2 separate regions of the Homo sapiens genome follow, and region 2 is linked to region 1. The links are contacts of gene promoters, found by promoter capture Hi-C in human tissues and cell types (Jung and others, 2019). All regions are on one chromosome and are shown on one strand. The core of a region is centred on a gene start or on the middle of the fragment in contact, and the rest is flanking DNA. Distances in the headings are between cores, read along the strand shown. Region 1 holds the start of SSH3 (slingshot protein phosphatase 3). Region 2 overlaps LOC107984341 (a long non-coding RNA gene).

Evidence for each region. The method cuts DNA at HindIII sites, captures the fragments that hold promoters and counts their contacts. A contact is called where the count stands out against the background at its distance.
Region 2: a fragment that was not itself captured here is called in contact with the fragment with the promoter of SSH3 in region 1 in 3 of the 25 tissues and cell types used here (IMR-90 fibroblasts, dorsolateral prefrontal cortex and lymphoblastoid cells).

What each region holds. Positions count from the first base shown.
Region 1 is chr11:67,301,809-67,305,046 of GRCh38, forward strand. It overlaps SSH3 (slingshot protein phosphatase 3), which reads left to right and starts at 1,722. Exons shown (of 14, transcript NM_017857.4): 1 at 1,722-1,883; 2 at 2,310-2,347; 3 at 2,965-3,199. The coding sequence starts at 1,818. It overlaps ANKRD13D (ankyrin repeat domain 13D), which reads left to right. Exons shown (of 15, transcript NM_207354.3): 14 at 1-15; 15 at 311-676. The coding sequence ends at 524. RefSeq lists enhancers at 872-1,389, 1,390-1,909. The HindIII fragment of the contact is 10,588 bases long and covers 1-3,238 here.
Region 2 is chr11:67,111,945-67,115,182 of GRCh38, forward strand. LOC107984341 (a long non-coding RNA gene) reads right to left here. Exons shown (of 2, transcript NR_160735.1): 2 at 348-711. Among named protein-coding and RNA genes, the nearest start is that of KDM2A, 5.7 kb to the right of the region's middle. The HindIII fragment of the contact is 5,381 bases long and covers 1-3,238 here.

The DNA.
Region 1 (3,238 bases), core at 472-2,971:
GCTTCAGCTGGAGCGGTGAGCCCCTCATGGGGCTGGCTGGGTCCCTGTCCCCCCAGCCCTGGCTTGGCGGGGAGGGGGATAGCAGGAAGGTGCTAGGACCCCAGGCCCTCTGCAAGGCCACCCTCTGTCAGCAGCGCTATCTGCCACCAAAGGTGGTGTGAGGGGTGGGGAAGCAGGGCCCTGCCTTGTCTCCTCTGCTTGCCACCCTGTCTTTGCCTTTGTCCTCCAAAGCCGGTCCCCAGCCCCTCGGCTTCTGCCCCAGCCTTGGCGCTCACTGGCCTGTTCTTCCCTCCCCTGCCCTGCCTGGAAGGGCCCTCCAGGAAAGCCTGCAGCTGTCCACAGAGCCCAGGGGCCCAGGATCCCCTCCCAGGACACCCCCAGCCCCCGGTCCACCCAGCTTTGAAGAGCAGCTGCGCCTGGCCCTGGAGTTGTCTTCACGGGAGCAGGAGGAGCGGGAGCGGCGCGGGCAGCAGGAGGAGGAGGACTTACAGCGGATCCTGCAGCTGTCACTCACTGAGCACTGAGCCATAGCCCCGGGAGGGCTGGCCAGGCCACTCCCTGCCCGCTTTTGTAATTTATTTATTTATAAACTCTCTGCTGCTGAGCTTGGGGCCTGGAGCCCCAGGAATGAGCAGGCAGGGGAGACTGAGATGGAAATAAAGAGACTGTCGCAGCAGGGCTGCTCTGCTCACTGGGCTGGAGCGGTGGGGACCCTGAAGGTGGGGCGCTGTGGAGAGGCACTGTGGATGGCGGCCTCAGACCTGGGCTTGAATCCTGGTCATGGTCCCCTTAGCCTATCTGAGCCTCAGTTTCTTCAGTTGTAAAATGAGGAGACCACCCCCCACCCTCCGCCCCTCAGGGCTGAAAGGAGCTGGCGAGAGTCACGTGTCCTTACCAAGCAGGCGTCCTGTGAAAGTCAGATCCCCTGTGCCCTGTCCCACCTGCTGGGGACCCGGTTCGTCCTGCCACCCAGCCTAGTCTTCTGGAAACCGGCCCACGTGCCTGCTGGGGAGGAAAAGCCTGGGTCCCCAGGCACCATTCACCTCCAGCTGGGAAGAGCCCCGACGCCGACCCCTGCAGCCAAGCCCAGGCCCTGGCCCTGACTGCGGCTTGTTCTCTGCGGGTGGGTTTGCGCAAGTCACTTCCGCCTGCGTAGCTGGAAGCCCTGCCCTGCTCGCCTCCGAGGTGGACCTGAGAGCCCCTCATGGGCTTCCTGGGTTATTTGTAAACCCCAGGCCGTTTTCCCCGGAAGCCTGTCTTCCAGTGGTTCCTGCGGAGTGGGAACGAGAAGGCCGACCAGCAGGGAGAAATGTTTGGGGTGGGGGCCCTTGGCCGAGGGCGCGCCGTGCCTGATCCTCTCTAGACCTGTCCCCCACCTCCCCACCTCAGCTCTGCCTCCCTAGGACCCGCCTCTGCAGGGCACAGGACGCTGGAGGCCCAGAACAGCTCAGGTGCTCCCGCTGGGCCGGCCCGGGCCGGGCGCTTCCTGGGAGGGGGACCAAACTCCCGGCCTTCAGCTCTTGCCCTCCGGGTCTCCGGGCTCCGCACCTGCGCCCGCCCCCGGCCTCGCCCCTGACCTGTGCCCAGGGGCTGGGCGGGCCGAACAGCGGAGACCGGAGGGGCGGGGCCCGGCCGCCCTGAGAAGCTCCGCGGGCCCGGCTGGGCGAGTGTCTGGCCCTTTAAGGGCCGCCCCCGAGGAGGTGCCAGGCCCGGGTGGCGCCGTCCGTCCTTCCTGGTCCTGCGGGTCCAGGACTGTCCGCGGGGTTGAGGGAAGGGGCCGTGCCCGGTGCCAGCCCAGGTGCTCGCGGCCTGGCTCCATGGCCCTGGTCACAGTGAGCCGTTCGCCCCCGGGCAGCGGCGCCTCCACGCCCGTGGGGCCCTGGGTGAGTGTGGTCCGGCCGTGGTGCCGCCCACGCAGTTGCTGCCCCGGCTTGGGAGCGCGTCCTGCCCGCCAGCGGGCTCCTCTCGAACGGGGACATGAGGAGGGGGCCCCGGGGCTCGGGCTGGAGGGCGCTGGGGGCCTCGAGGGTCTCTGGTACTGGCGCCGGGGCACAATCCAGAGCCCTGCGCGCCGCCCGGGCTGCGGAGGCCCCGATCTGAGCGCGCCCCCCGCCACACTCGGCGCCCACCCAGCCGACCTGGCCTTGGGCCGGGGCTCCACGGGGCCTCCCGGTGGGGCGTGGACTGGGGTGGGAAGACGATTGGCATCTGGCGCCTTTTCTGGCCTCCCCCAACTCTAGAATTCCTGAGAGAGGGGAGGGGACAGCCCTCCCCGCCCTCACCCTGCCCTGGGGCTGCTCTCTCCGCAGGACCAGGCGGTCCAGCGAAGGAGTCGACTCCAGCGAAGGTGAGCGCCACCTCCCCCACGCAGACACTTCCGTCTGCCCCGGGCCTGGCCACGGCCGTCCTGGGCTCCAGCTGCAGGGACAGAAAGCTCCCCGGAGGACGCGCAGCGAAGCCCACTGCCAAATTTGTGGGGCAGCGTTCCCGGTGGGGCCGGCTGGTGGGCTCGCGGTAGGGCGGCCTTTGCCTTCACCCTCCCCCTGGTCAGCTGGGGCTTCCTCATCCACTGCCCTGGGCTTTGGCTCAGGTGGTGGCCACGGGCCGAACGGCAGGAGGGCATGATGGGCCTGAGGACTCCTGGGTCCCCGACCATGTTCCCAGCAGCACTTGAGTTAAACAGGTGGGAGGGGAAAAGGAGCAGCCCCCTCTCCCCACAGATGAGCTAGAGTAGAGGGGCTGAGAGCTTGGAAGCCCCCAAGACTGGTTCTCAGCAATATTGCCAAGGGGCCGAGGGGTTAGAAATGCAGATGCTCAGGCCTCCACTCTAGACCTATCGACCGCGTGGGGGCCCATGAATCCGTGTAGACAAGGGCTGCAGGTGAATGTGATGCATGCTAGACTTTGAGAGCCCCTACCCTAAGGGGAATGAGGAGCCATGACAGTTGCCCACTGCCCTGCCAGGCAGAGCTTTGCGGTGCTCCGTGGGGCTGTCCTGGGACTGCAGGATGGAGGGGACAATGATGATGCAGCAGAGGCCAGTTCTGAGCCAACAGAGAAGGCCCCGAGTGAGGAGGAGCTCCACGGGGACCAGACAGACTTCGGGCAAGGATCCCAGAGTCCCCAGAAGCAGGAGGAGCAGAGGCAGCACCTGCACCTCATGGTACAGCTGCTGAGGCCGCAGGATGACATCCGCCTGGTGAGGGCCCATGTGGAGCTCCGGGGGGTGGGGGGAAGA
Region 2 (3,238 bases), core at 306-2,805, 190 kb before region 1:
CAGTGTACTCAGTAAGTACCCAAATCCTACATGTAGGAGAAAAAGAAACTGGACAATGCATTGTACACTTAAAACTTTGTTAAAATGGTAAATCTCACATCAAGTGTTCTTACCACAATAAAATAAAAATAAATTTAAAATAGGAGAACTGGCCAGGTGCAGTGGCTCATGCCTGTAATCCCAGGCACTTTGGGAGGTCAAGGCAGGAGTATCACATGAGGCCAGGAGTTCGAGACCAGCCTGGGGAACATAGTGAGACCCTGTTTCTATGAAAAAAAAAATTACCAAGTAAAAAATTTTTTAAAAATAGGAAAACCAGAAATCCTTTTTTTTTCTTTTTTTTTTTGAGATGGAGTTTCACTCTTGTTGTCCAGGCTGGAGTGCAAAAGCGCGATTTCGGGTCACTGCAACCTCTGCCTCCCGGGTTCAAGTGATTCTCCTGTCTCAGCCTCCCAAGTAGCTGTGATTACAGGCATGTGCCACCATGCCCAGCTAATTTTGTATTTTTAGTAGACATGGGGTTTCTCCATGTTGGTCAGGCTGGTCTCGAACTCCCAACCTCAGGTGATCTGCCCACCTTGGCCTCCCAAAGTGCTGGGATTACAGGCATGAGGCACTGTGCAAGACCTCAGAAATCCTTTCTAAAATAAGTTGTCTTCTAGTTTCCAAAGGGTATTCATGTCCATTAGTCCATTTCACTCCACAACAATCCTAGGAGGAAACAGGGCAGGAGTCACTACTTCTGTTTTATTTATATACATTATATATATAAAATATATATGTTTTAAATATATGTTTTATATATATTATATATATTTATATACATGTATTATGTTTTATATATATTATATATATTTATATACATATATTATATATAATATATATTTTTTTGAGACAGAGTCTTGCTCTGTTGCCCAGGCTAGAGTGCAGTGGCACGATCTCGGGCTCACTGCAACCTCCGCCTGCCTCCCAGGCTTAAGTGATTCTCCTACCTCAGCCTCCCGAGTAGCTGGGAATACAGGCATGTGCCACCGCGCCCAGCTAATTTTTGTATTTTTAGTAGAGATAGGGTTTCACAATGTTGCCCAGGCTGGTCTTGAACTCCTGACCTCAGGTGATCTGCCCGCCTTGGTCTCCCAAAGTGCTGGGATTACAGGCTTAAGCCACCGCGCCCAGCCTACTCTGTTTTATTAAAGAGAACTGAAGTTCTGACGGGTTCAGAACCTCTCACAAAGTGGCTGAAGGAACACCAGCTTTAGCAGAAACTGATGAAAGGTAGCGAATGCCCTTGAAGAAGATAAAAAAAGATCAGACTCATTGGGAGGGGCTAAACAGGTCTAAGTGCTTAAGCATTTGGCCCTTTGGGGAAGTGGCTGGAGCCCTGTATGACTGTCACCACCAACCCAAGCTGGGAATCTAGTGCAAGGTTGCAAACAGACCCTGAAACCCCAGGGTGCCAGAAACTTCCCCCAGCAAGCACAGGTGTAGCTGAGGCACAGGCTCTGCATCTTAGAGCTCCACTCTCGGGCACAGCAGGAAGTCCCACCCTTTTAGAAGTGAGAAATGAGGGTGGCCTGGCCCCAAAGCGAAGCTAAGGCTGCTAAAGAGCAGGTGGGGCCCAGACACTGCTGCAGTTGCCCCAACAGCCAAAGTACACCCCAGCGCTCAGGAGCAGTGGGTCTGCACAGCGGAAGGTGACATACCTGGAAAAGATGGCAGCAAGGAAGCATGGGGCCAGGGAGGGTGGTGGTCCCATGGTCCCAAGGAAAGCGTCAGCCACATTCCATGCAAGAACCTCATGTGACACCCATGTTTGATGATCCAAGAATCTGCAGGGCATTTCTGCTTCATTTTTTTCCCCCTGATCAATTCAGGTTCCAAACTCAAAAAAAAAAAAAAAAGAAAAGAAAAGAAAAAAGAAAGAAAACTTTCAGCTGGGCGTGGTGGCTCACGGCTGTAATCCCAGCACTTTGGGAGGCGGAGGTGGGTGGATCACCAGGTCAGGAATTCGAGACCAGCCTGGCCAACATGGTGAAACCCCGTCTCTACTAAAAATACAAAAATTAGCCAGGCACGGTGGCGGGCACCTGTAATTCCAGCTACTCAGGAGGCTGAGACAGGTGAATCGCTTGAACCCAGGAGGTGGAGTTTGCAGTGAGCTGAGATCGCGCCACTGCACTCTAGCCTGGGCAACAGAGCGAGACTCCAACTCAAAAAAAGAAAAAAAAGAAAACTTTCTATCACTTAAAGCTTATAATCACCCCCCAACACCCTTTAACCCTAGAAGAAGTTTTCTTTCTTTTTTTCTTTTTTCCCGGGGTGGGGGGTGCGGGTGGAGGGAGATGTTCAGGAAATGGTTAAGTAACAAAATCAGAGAGCACGGGATTGAGGTGATTAAGGGCAACAAATGGATGGTAAAGGAAAGTGGGAAAGCCATTCAGTCAGATGATACTGGGCCAGGAGAGTGAGATGAACATGGAGGAGGGGGTGGGCCAAATGATGGAGAGAAGGCTGGAAAGAAAGAGACTTCAGGAGGCAGGTGATGAGGAGAAAGAGGCAGCTGGAGTCAGGGAAGAGGGAAGAATAGAAAGCGGAGACACCAGGGTCGGGGGTCGGGGAGAGAAACCAGGAGTTAGGATAGGGAAGAGGGCCGGGTGTGGTGGCTCATGCCTGTTATCCCAGCACTTTGGGAGGCAGAGGGGGGCGGATCACCTGAGACAGGGAGTTTGAGACCAGCCTGGCCAACATGGTGAAACCCTGTCTCTACTAAAAACACAAAAATTAGCCAGGCATGGTGGCGGGTGCTTGTAATCCCAACTTCTCAGGAAGCTGAGGCAGGAGAATTGCTTGTACCCGGGAGGTGGAGGTTGCAGCGAGCCAAGATCATGCCATTGCACTCCAGGCTGGGTGACACGGTGAGACTGTCTCAAAAAAAAAAAAAAAAAAAAAAGGGAGGGGGAAGAGAATCGAGGAATAAGTCATCACACTTAATGTCTATGCAAACTCTTGACTCACATGAAAACTTCAAGTTTCTTAAATATTGAAGCATCTTTACTTAAAACCTTCCTTCCCTTCTTTTTTTTTTTTTTTTTTTTTTTTAGAGACATGGTTTCACTGTCACTCAGGCTGAAGTGCAGTGGCATAGTCATAGTTCATAGTCCAACTCCTGGGCTCCAGCAATCCTCCACCTCAGTCTCTTTTTTTGTTTGTTTTTTTTTGAGACGGAGTCTCCCTCTGT